Linked DNA regions of Homo sapiens: region 2 is linked to region 1. The links are contacts of gene promoters, found by promoter capture Hi-C in human tissues and cell types (Jung and others, 2019). All regions are on one chromosome and are shown on one strand. The core of a region is centred on a gene start or on the middle of the fragment in contact, and the rest is flanking DNA. Distances in the headings are between cores, read along the strand shown. Region 1 holds the start of CBR1 (carbonyl reductase 1). Region 2 overlaps DOP1B (DOP1 leucine zipper like protein B).

Region 1 (5,601 bases), core at 1,988-4,487:
TCACCCCCAAGTTGTACTGTCCCTTCCCTTGACCTTTTAGGTTGATTGTACTTGAGACAAAGCTTATTTAGCATCTAAACAATCTGTACAAATGGACACTTATAAAGAACCATTTATTCATCTGTTGATTTTCATTCATTATTTTCATCAATTACAATTTTTCCTCTCCTGCATCAGAGGAAATCACAAAAGACCTGACAGATTTACGTAGTCAACTGAGTGCGTAGGTTGCTCAATTAGTAGTACATTAGTGAGTGCTAATTGATAAGAGATCATTTTTTTTCTTATATAAGGATATTTATGACATTGTAAATGCCCTTTGGACCAACTCAGGACAAGGTACAAAATGGGGCCCATGGATGGAGCTGTGAGCCCAGCTCACCACTGTTCAACTCTCTTCTCTGAAACAAATTGTCCATGGGGACCCTCAGCATCTGGGGGCAAAAGGGCCAAGTACACAGGGGTCTCTGCACCTTCTTCTGGGCTCTTGGTGGCCTTGGGTCCCGCCATGTCAGTTCTCACCCACCCTGGGCAGCAGGCATTCAGGAGGATCTTGTCCCCTTTCCTCTGCTCACTCAGTTTCCTGGCGTGGATCCTGGACAGAACGGTGACGCCAATCTTCGTCACCCCGTATGCGCTGCTGGGCCAGCCCTCCTTCTGGTGCACTCCCTTCTTTGTATCCTCCACAAACTTGTTCATGAGCCCCACCAGCTCCTCCTCAGTGATGGTCTCACTGCGGAACTTCTGCTGCAGCTCTGGGCTGCAGCTTTTAAGGGCTCTGACGCTCATGATGCTAGATACGTTCACCACTCTCCCTAAGATACACCACAAAGCATTATGTAGAAAGGTGTGCAACAATCCCGTAGAGAGGTGAATGCCAAATTTGCAGGGATTTTGGAGCAGAAAATTTTCATATGAGAGACAGTTACTGGTATGAGTTCTAAGAGGAATACGCATAGAAAGTGTGGTGGTAGTTGCATGAAGAAGTTCATTCCTGCCTTCGAATTTTGGCTGAGTAGAGTCAGGTGAGATTTGGAAGAGCTGCCCTTTGAGGTCCTGGTGAACCAGAGCCTTAGAAGTAGCACAACTTAACAGGACGACAGGACAGGGAAACAGGATAAAAGCTGAGAGTAAGCTGTACATGCAAGTACCCAACTCGAAGCCACACATTTAAATTTTTCTAAAAGTGGCTGCTTAATTGCTGTGTTATTTAATGGGTGGGTTCATCTCCTGTCCCATTACTTAGGGTAACTATCACAGCAGTTTACAACCAAAGACATGTGATAGTCATGTCCAGCACCTTCAGCACGTTGAAGGGGAGTTAAAATGGGCCCAGAGTTAAGCAGCGGCAGATTATGGACATCTCTGTGAACCATGCTAAGGGCTTGGACTTTCCTCCTGAAGGATTTTGGGAGAGGCATGACCATGCAGACAGTACGCAGGATGCTGGGAAAGGAAAAGAGGAAAAGACTCAAGACCAGAGGTGCCTTGTGAGGGTTTGCAATTGTCCAGAGGGACAGGTGAGGGCCTGCTGTAGAGCTGCAATGAGACGGATTCAGGAGGAACTCAGTGGGCACAACTCCTAGGACCTAGTAAATGATTATGAGGGGTGGGGCATGGTGACCTGCAGGATCCTGGTGGGTGGGTGGTGGGGTCTGTGTCCCAAACGACTTAGGGAAAAGGATAGGGATCCTCTGGAAATATCTTAGATTGTGGGGAAAGGCATCAGGAAGAGATGGAAAGGCAGCAAGACAACCATGTGGTTGGGAGCTTAAGGAGTGTTTCAGACAGGTGACAGGTATTAGAAGGGCCTAATGAACTGGTGGTAGTAAAGCCTCCACCAGCCTGAATAAGATCTCTCTGAAAGAGCAGAGAAAGGGTACAGGATGGACTCCCACGCAGAGGGGAATGGAGCAAATAAAGAGCATCTCTCAGGAGACGTTTGAGCTAAGACCTGAAGGATGAGAGTCAGCCAGGTGTGCAAAGACCAGTGCGACAGGGAGGACGAATGGCCATGGGAGTGGGAGAAGTGAGGACAAAGTCCTGAGGCAAAATGGCACATATCAGCTGGCAGGAGAAAAAGCACAGAGGTCAGTGCACGTGCAGCATGGAGAGGAAGCAGGAGCCTGCAGGAGAAATCCCAGGCAAGCAGGGGCCAAATCAAGCCCCAAAGAGAAGGTGCGCTGTTTCCCATCAGACTCACCTTGGGGTTTTATTAGAGGGAGTAATTCTGTGCACACATCTCGGGTACCAAAGAAATTTGTTTTCATCGTCACTTCAGCTTGAATATGAAAGGGTGTGGGATCAGCAACTTTTAGGAGAGAAAGAGAACATAGTTAATACATTGTACCCATGGGGTAAAATTCTATACAATGATACTAAAAAAAAAAAAAAAAAAAAAAAAAAACTTAGTGCCCTCTGCCTAAAGTAAGTCTGTATCTGGTTACAGTATTGTGCCAATGTCAATCTCCTGGTTTGATCATGTTCTAGTATTTTTGTAAGATGGCACCATTGGGGGAAGGAGGATGAAGGGTGCACACACTGGATCTTGGCATAACCATTTTTTCTTTTTGCAATTTGTCGTTTATTTTAAAATCAGTTCAAAATCCATCCAGTTGCCTTAAAGCTCAATTCAGAAAAACTGCAGAAAACCTGAAAAAGATCCCCAAGAGTCCCAGCCAGGGAAACACAAAGTTCCCTTTGGCTGGAAAACTCTCACTTTCTCCAAGGTTTCTGCACTCCCTGCATCTCCTAGCTCCTCCCTCTCCTCCCTAGGGAGGCGTTATGGACCCCGCAGACGCCAGGAGCCCCAGTGCATCGGTTCTTCTTCGGGGAGGCCACGTCCCCTCCCCATACCCTTGAAGGCGATGCCCGCGTTGTTGACCAGCACGTCCAGGCCCCCGTACTCCTTGCGCAGGAAGTCGCGCAGGGCGCGGATGCTCTGCAGATCGTCGATGTCCAGCTGGTGGAAGCGCGGGCTCAGGCCCTCCGCCTGCAGCTGCTGTACGGCCGCCTGGCCCCGCGTCACGTCCCGCGCCGTGAGCACCACGTCCCCCGAGAACAGCCGGCACAGGTCGCGCACGATGGCCAAGCCGATGCCCTTGTTGCCTCCAGTCACCAGCGCTACATGGATGCCGGACGACATGGCTGAACGGGGCGCGCGGAACACCTGCGTGGAGAACAGACCTGGCTCAGGCCCGGGAGCCCCGCAGCGTGTTCCAGAGACTGCTCGAGTCTGGCGGTCGTGGGCGCGCACCCGTGGGTTACACGCCCGGCCGCTGAGCGCGCAGGCGCAGGCCCCGCCCTAGCGGGGCGGGGCTGAACCATCCCTACCCCTCCCCACCGGAACCTCGCCGGGGTGCGGAGCAGGCGGAGAGCCAGCTAGCCTGACTTTGCAGAACCCGCAGGCCGAAGACCGAGGCTGGTCTCTAGCTACTGGCTGTTGGCTGCCCACGTGGCAGTGAAGAACCATTCCTAGTGGCCATGTGCCTAGATCTGAACTCACTGCTTGCCCTTGGTTCTCTGAGGGGTTTTCTTCATATTCTCCCAGCTGTTCAATCATTCCTAGTTGTGTTTGAAGAAATAGTACATTTGCATGGTTTTTTTTTCTTTTTTTCCTGGTGTTCTAAAAAAAAAAATACTGCAGGAACTGCAGTCTTTGGAGCTAGAGTTGCAGAAGAAACTGGAAGGAAATAACAGGGCATCAAGTTTTTGTTGATTTTCCCCCTAAGTATATGAAAACAAAGCTACTGACTTAGCCAGATTTTCCAATAATGGTGGGAAACATTCACTAAATCTTTATAAGGTTACTTCTCTGGGCATTTGCAGGGCCATCAGTTTATCTGTGCATAGGTGTAGGGGGTTTCACAGCCCTATTTTACACGGACAATAACACTCTAGGATGTACCTTTTAATCCCCATCTTAAAATGAAGAAACAGGGATCCATCCTCAGAATTTATAACTTAGTTCAGTGGTGGGAAATTGTTAGAGAAATGCCAGGAGTTTGGTCTAGGTCTGGTGGTTCACAGCACAGAAAGCCAGTCACTGAGACCCCATTATTGTCAGGGAAGAAGGCATTATTTGGGTGCTACAGCCTAGGGGGGAGAGATCAGTCTCAAATCCATCTTCTCAACTGATTAAAATTAGGATATAGCAGGGAAGAAATGTAACTGCATGTGGGAAAATAGCAGGAGTTAGGGAGAGATGAAGAGGAGTGGGTCAACAGGCATCAGGCAATTGTTGCAGGTGAGGGGTCTGGTGTCTGATTTTCCAGATGTGGTGATCCGATAAGTTTCAGTTCCTTGGTGCTATCTGGGAGGACTGATGGCTAGTTCCCTGAGAAAGGAACTCAGATAAGACAAATGTAAATTTCTCAAGTTTTTAGACTGGGAGGGTCAATTTGTTTATTCAAAAGAGACCAGGCCTGGCGCGGTGGCTCACGCCTGTAATCTCAGCACTTTGGGAGGCTGAGGTGGGTGGATCATGAGGTCAGGAGTTCAAGACCAGCCTGGCCAAGATGGTGAAACCCCATCTCTACTAAAAAAAAAAAAAAAAAAAAAAAATACAAAAATTAGCTGGGTGTGGTGGCAGGCGCCTGTAATCCCAGCTACTTGGGAGGCTGAAGCAGAGAATTGCTTGCTTGAACCCCAGAGGCGGAGGTTGCAGCGAGCCGAGATCATGCCACTGCACTCCAGCCTGGGCAACAGAGTGACTCCCTCTCAAAAAAAAAAAAAAGGAAAAAAAAAGAGACCATAAACATCTGTCCTATGGGACAATTGCATGGTTTCAAAGTGAGTGTTCCTCCTTCCTACTTACAAGGGAATTGGGAATAAGGTCAAGTTTCATTTCTGTGCTGTCCCATAGGTTGCCACTATCACAGGTGGCCATTTAAACATAAATTCAAATTAAGCAAAATTTGTAATTCAGTTTTTTAGTTGCACTAGCCACATCTCCAGTGCTCAATATGTGCATGTGTTAGTGGTCACTGTATTGGGCAGTACAGATTTAGGATATTTCCATCCTTGCAGAAAGGTCTGTTGAACACCACTGCTTTAAATAGATTGCAATTACATTGCAATTTCAAGGTAGGTTTCCAATCAGTTGCTTTAAAACAAGTTAATAATCAAGGAAAGACCCTTGCTTTTTTTCAACTGAAATTTTTGTCGAGCTAATTATAGAGTCACATGCAGTTGTAAGAAATAATACAGAGATTCCTTACCCTTTACTCAGTTTCACTCAATAGTAACATATTGCAAAAGTATAGTACAACATCACAGTGAAGATATTGACAACAAAACAGTCCACCAATCATACTCAGATTTCCCCAGTTTGATGTGTACTTTGTGTATGTATTTAGTCCTATATAATTTTATCAAATGTTGGTTTGTGTATCCACCACTATAGTTAAATGAAAATGTTTCTATTAGCACAAAGAGCCCTCCTGTTGCACTTTTATCACCAAACATACCTCTCTGTTACTCCCCAAACCAACTCTAATTCATGGCAACCACTAATCTGTTCACCATTTCTACAAGTTTGTTGTTTCAAAAATGTTACATAGATGGAGTCATACAGTTTGTAGTATTTTGTTTTTGGTTTTT
Region 2 (5,601 bases), core at 1,510-4,009, 190 kb before region 1:
GTAGAGATGGGGTCTCCCTATGTTGCCCAGGCTGCAGACTAGCCACACTTCAAGTGCTCAACAGCCACCTGTGGCTAACGGCTACTATACTGGCCAATGTAGGTAAAATATACAGAGAACACAAGTCATTGCAGCACGCTGATGAAAAAACCATAAATTGTATTCAGTGGATTGGCTTTCTGGTTTCTCTAGGACCACGGGTTCTTCCTAGAAATGCATCTTTCAATAATATACAAGAAATAAAGGTCAGTAAGTTAAACTGACTCAGTGGGGTGAAGTGAGGAGTCATCCACTCTCAGGAGTATGATCAGTAAAGAATCTGGTTAGTAGCTGGAGAGACAGAAACTCGAAGCAGGCTTCTCAGCCAGTGTCATCAAGTGTCACCAGCTACGAGTGGCTATAATCCTTGACATCCGAGAATTTTATAATCCTGACCTCAACTGTGCCACACGGTTCCTAGGCTCAGCAGTTGTGTTGAGGTGTGAAGCAGGGCACACCTGCCTGCTGGGTGAGAGAAGGGTGCGCTCGAGGGAAGTGGCGAATTGGCTAACTTAGGCAGGGCAGGGTGTGAAGGGCACAAGGAAAGTCAGGAAAAGGGATTAGGGGCTTAGAGGAGTTCCCGTAAGGACTGATGAAAGCACTGAGTGGACGGGTGTGATATTGTGGAAATGTTTTTGGCCTTTCTCCCCATTTCCCAGCTATAACTCCTAAATTCCTTGGATTCTCCAAAGTAATACGTGTCTTAGATGGTTGTGGCTGGGGGCCCCCAGAGAACTTCAGCTCCCCAACCTCCAGGAAGGGGAGAGGGGCTAAAGGTTAAATTGATCACCAATGACCAGTGATTTAATCCATCATGCCTATGTAATGAAGCTTCCACAAACCCCAAAGTAACTGGGTTCGGATGAGCTTCTGGATGGCTAAACATGTGGAGGTTCCTAGAGGGTGGTGCCCTAGGAGGGCATGGAAGCTCTGTGCCCCTTCCCACGTACCTTGCCTGATCATCGCTTCATCTGTATCCTTTCTAATCTCCTTTATAATAAACTGGTCAGCCGGGTGTGGTGGCTCATGCCTGTAATTCCAGCACTTTGGGAGGCTGAGGCGGCTGGATCACGAGGTCACGAGTTCGAGACCAGCCTGGCCAACATGGTGAAACCCCACCTCTACTAAAAATACAAAAATTAGCTGGCATTGTGGCGGGCACCTGTAATCCCAGCTACTCGGGAGGCTGAGGCAAGAGAATCGCTTGAACCTGGGAGGCGGAGGTTGCAGTGAGCTGAGATCGTGCCATTGCACTCCAGCTTGGGCAACAAGAGCAAGACTCTGTCTCAAAAAAATAAATAAATAAATAAAATAAACTGTTCAATGTGTTCCCTGAGTTCCATCAGCCACTCCAGCTAATTAACAGAACCCAAGGGGTGGGTAGTGAGAACCCCAGTTTAGAGCTGGTCTGTCAAAAGCACAGATGAAACCACTTGGGGCTTGTGATTGGCATCTGAGGGGGTGGGGCAGTCTTGTGGGACTGAGCCCTCAACCTGCAGGATCTCAAGCTATCTCTAGGTGGGGAATGCCAGAATTGAATGGAATTGGACGGTGCCTATCTAGTGTCCACTGCAGAACTACTAGCTTGGTTGCTGGTGGGAAGCAATTCCCACACATTTTGGTTACGAGGTCACAGAAGGATTCTATGTTACGAGAGTGTGGTAGGAAAATCACACTTTGTTTTTTTCTATATCCTCAGTGGGGAAGAAGCATAGGGTGTCGCTCAAAACAGTAGGAAGGAATTAGTGGCGGGGAGGCCAGGTGTCATGAGACAGAAAGAAGCAGATGCCACCTGGTCCCCGCAACCAAAAGGAGCAGAGAAGAGGCATGCCAGCTGCAACAACGGAGGGAATGCCTGTGGCCAGAGCCCTGTCCAGGCTGGCTGAAGACAGAGGGGCCTGCTACAGGCAACAGGCCACGAAAGCAGGGAGGGCTTAGGTGAGCAAGTGCTATCCCAGCACCTGGACGTGCAGCATCGGCATTGTAACGTTTTCTTCTCTGGCTACAAGTCAAGGCCAAAGGAGGAGGCACTGGAATTTTCTAATTATGCTTTATGGTGTTTTTGTTTTTTTGTTTTTTGTTTTTGAGACGAAGTTTCACGCTTGTTGCCCAGGCTGGAGTACGGTGGTGAGATCTCGGCTCACTGTAACCTCTGCCTCCCAGGTTCAAGCGATTCTCCTGCCTCAGCCTCCTGAGTAGCTGGGATTATAGGCATCCGCCACCAGGCATGGCTAATTTTTGTATTTTCAGTAGAGGTGGGGTTTCACCATGTTGGCCAGGCTGGTCTTGAACCCCTGACCTCAGGTGATCCGCCCACCTTGGCCTCCCAAAGTGCTGGGATTGCAGGCGTGAGCCACCGCACACGGCCTACTGCACTTTATACAGTACTCTTGTGGTTCAGAACTGTGGACCTGAGGCTGTTTCTGGATATACCTTTCACAAATGCCAGGGATCATAAAGATTAGCAGTAGTATCGCCAAGGCTATAAATGTGATAGAAAAGCCAACTGAATCAATGTCTATAATGGTTTGCAAAACAGTGATTTTTCCAACTTCATCATAACTTCCGTATTTATTAGTTGGCATTCCACTCTGAGTTTTCCTTCTCCTATGATGAGTTTTATTTTTCAGTATTAAACAAATTGTTATGAGCATATATTACTGTTATAATGGGGGATAAGGCGTTTAAGGAAAGAAATCCATGTATGGAGGCTGGGTGTGGTAGCTCACGTCTGTAATCCCAGCACTTTGGGAGGCCAAGGTAGGAGGATCACCTGAGGTCAGGAGTCTGAGACCAGACCAGCCAACATGGAGAAAGCCCGCCTCTACTAAAAATACAAAAAATTAGCCGGGCGTGGTGGCATGTCTGTAATCTCAGCTACTTGGGAGACTGAGGCAGAAGAATCGCTTGAACCCCAGAGGTGGAGGTTTCAGTGAGCTGAGACCGTGCCACTGCACTCTAGCCTGGGTGATGGAGTGAGATTCTGTCCAACCCCCTGGCCCAAAAAAAAAAAAAAGAAAAAAAGAAATATCCATGTATGGAGATAGCTTCCTTTTTTAAAAAATTTTTTTGAGACAGGATCTCTCTCTGTTGCCAGGCTGAAGTGCAGTGGTGTGATCACAGCTCACTACAGCCTCAACCTCCCAGGCTCAAGGGATCCTTAGCCTCCCAAGTAGCTGGGACTATAGGTGTAGCTATCACACTAGGCTAATTTTTGTACTTTTGTAGAGATGAGGTCTCACTATGTTACCCAGATTGGTCTCAAACTCCTGAGCTTAAGCAATCTGCCCGCCTCAGCCTCCCAAAGTACTGGGATTACAAGTATGCGCCACCGCGTCTGGGGGGAAATAAGATTTCTTATTCCATTTATGTTTTACAGTGAGATCCACATACATCTGCATACAGTGTGGAGGGTGAGGGGTGCAGCTGTCAATTCCACAATCGATTGCTCAAGCATTACACAAGAACCTTCATCAGAAAACCCGGGCCCCGGGACTGTCCGAACTCTCTAGAGACAGTGATGGCAGAAGTAAGACTTGAGAACAAGTGCAAAGCTAACCTCAGATTCTGTCCAATGTCTCTTGTCTACCTGCTATCTGATATCCCCCAAAGGAGGACAGCACTGCTGGGGTAATATCATTTGGCTGAACCTCTTTCATATACAAACCTGCAGGTCTTTTTGGTCCTTCTTGTTTTCCAGGTTGGGAGTTCTTGTTACAAAGTCATTCAGCATGCTGTTGGGAGACAATCAGCTTCAGATTAAAAATGCTGCAGAAATAAAATATGTGCCAAGAGAAAATATTACACAATGACAATGTGGTGACATGATACCTGAGAAGCAGAAAATACCCAGGTGGGGCTAGATTCAACTGTACAGACTCTTTCAATACTCCCAACAGTGAAGAAAAGTTCTCTTGCAAGGCTGGTACTGGGAGCCTGTTTTTTTAAAAGATAGGAAAAATACTCAACCACGAACAAGTCAAAATACATTTATTTATAAGCATATTTAAGATCCTGGCAGTTGGAAAGCAAAGGGTAAACAGCATACCTCACTGACCTTTTTCTTTTTAAAAACTTACAATGTACATGAGCTAAACTTTGGTATTCTGGCAAACACTTGGAGTTTGAGAACCTGAAATCCTACTGCTGGCAGGTGAGATACTCCTGGTTTCTTTGTCTCTAAAATAAAAGCCTTAAATTAGATGATCGACCTTGACCTCTCAGGCCTTTTTTTTTTTTTTTTTGGTGAGACGGAGATTTACTTTTGTTGCCCAGGCTGGAGTGCAATGGCGTGATCTCGGCTCACTGCATCCTTCGCCTCCCAGGTTCAAGCGATTCTCCTGCCTCAGCCTCCCGAATAGCTGGGATTACAGGCATGTGCCACCACGCTCGGCTAATTTTGTATTTTTAGTAGCGACGGGGTTTCACCGTGTTGCCCAGGCTGATCTCGAACTCCCGACCTCAGGTGATCCACCCGCCTCGGCCTCCCAAAGTGCTGGGATTACAGGCGTGAGCCACTGCGCCCGGCCTTTCTTCTATTTTATTTTATTTTATTTTATTTATTTATTTATTTATTTTATTATTGTTTTTTAAGATAGAGTCTTGCTCTGTCACCCAGGCTGGAGTGCAGTGGCACGATCTGAGCTCACTGCAACCTCTGCCCCCCGGGTTTAAGCGATTCTCGTTCTTCAGCCTCCCAAGCTGGGAGTATAGGCGCGGGCCAACACACTGGGCTAATTTTTTGTATTTTTAGTAGAGATTAGTAGGGTTTCACCATGTTGGCCAGGCTGGTCTTGAACTCCTGGCCTCAAGTAAATCCACTTGCCTCGGTCACCCAAAGTGCTGGGATTACAAGCGTGAGCCACCGTGCCCGGCTGATCTCTCAGGCCTTTCTAGTGCTAATATTCTGCTTCCCTGAAGTGGCTGGTAACACAGCATCACCTGTCAGAAGGCTGCAAAGCATTAGGTCCCAGGACACTCACCAGGAAACTGGCCTACCCCGCTCTGTAGCTCTCAGGATGAGGATTCTGAGATCACCGCTCCAAAGCGAGGAAGCACAGTCCAGGCAGTGAAAGCTCAGACTACAGTCAGAGTGTCCCAGGTCCAAGTCCTGGTTCTCCAACTTACTACCTATTGTGTGACCTAGGCGGTTTCTCCTCTGCAAAAGGAGGATGACCAAATCTAACCTGCAGCTCCTGGGAAAGCTCAGCTGTCCCTCAGGCCACTACACTCAACATTCGCCAGCAACGCAATATATATTCGCTGTCACAGGAGGGAAGTGACCGGCTCATCTTTAACTCCTGGAGGAAAGAACAACAATGATGCTCACAAGGGAAGTGGTCTGAATTTAACCCCACCCTGGTCATCTACCAGGAGGCCTCAATTTACCGTCCTGCAACTTCAGAATGTGGTGAGTGGGAATAACTATGTAATGTTAACTGTGTGAATCAAGGAGCCTGTGCCTGGTTGTTGGAGTTATTTACAGTGAGACTCCTGATGGCTATGTAGGCATAGTGAGGCTTCCCTGAGAAGTGGTCTATACCCTTCCCACCCCCATTTTTT

Evidence for each region. Contacts are between HindIII fragments. The study calls those that stand out against the background at their distance.
Region 2: a contact is called between a fragment that was not itself captured here and the fragment with the promoter of CBR1 in region 1, in 1 of the 25 tissues and cell types used here (hippocampus).

Annotation. Positions count from the first base shown.
Region 1 is chr21:36,067,660-36,073,260 of GRCh38, reverse strand. It overlaps CBR1 (carbonyl reductase 1), which reads right to left and starts at 3,237. Exons shown (of 3, transcript NM_001757.4): 1 at 2,857-3,237; 2 at 2,204-2,311; 3 at 97-815. The coding sequence starts at 3,145. The coding sequence ends at 379. It overlaps CBR1-AS1 (CBR1 antisense RNA 1), which reads left to right. Exons shown (of 4, transcript NR_040084.1): 4 at 2,776-3,619. RefSeq lists an enhancer at 2,932-3,181. The HindIII fragment of the contact is 9,879 bases long and covers 1-5,601 here.
Region 2 is chr21:36,261,920-36,267,520 of GRCh38, reverse strand. DOP1B (DOP1 leucine zipper like protein B) reads right to left here. Exons shown (of 37, transcript NM_001320714.2): 25 at 3,871-3,975; 26 at 3,707-3,773. Among named protein-coding and RNA genes, the nearest start is that of MORC3, 55 kb to the left of the region's middle. The HindIII fragment of the contact is 7,013 bases long and covers 1-5,601 here.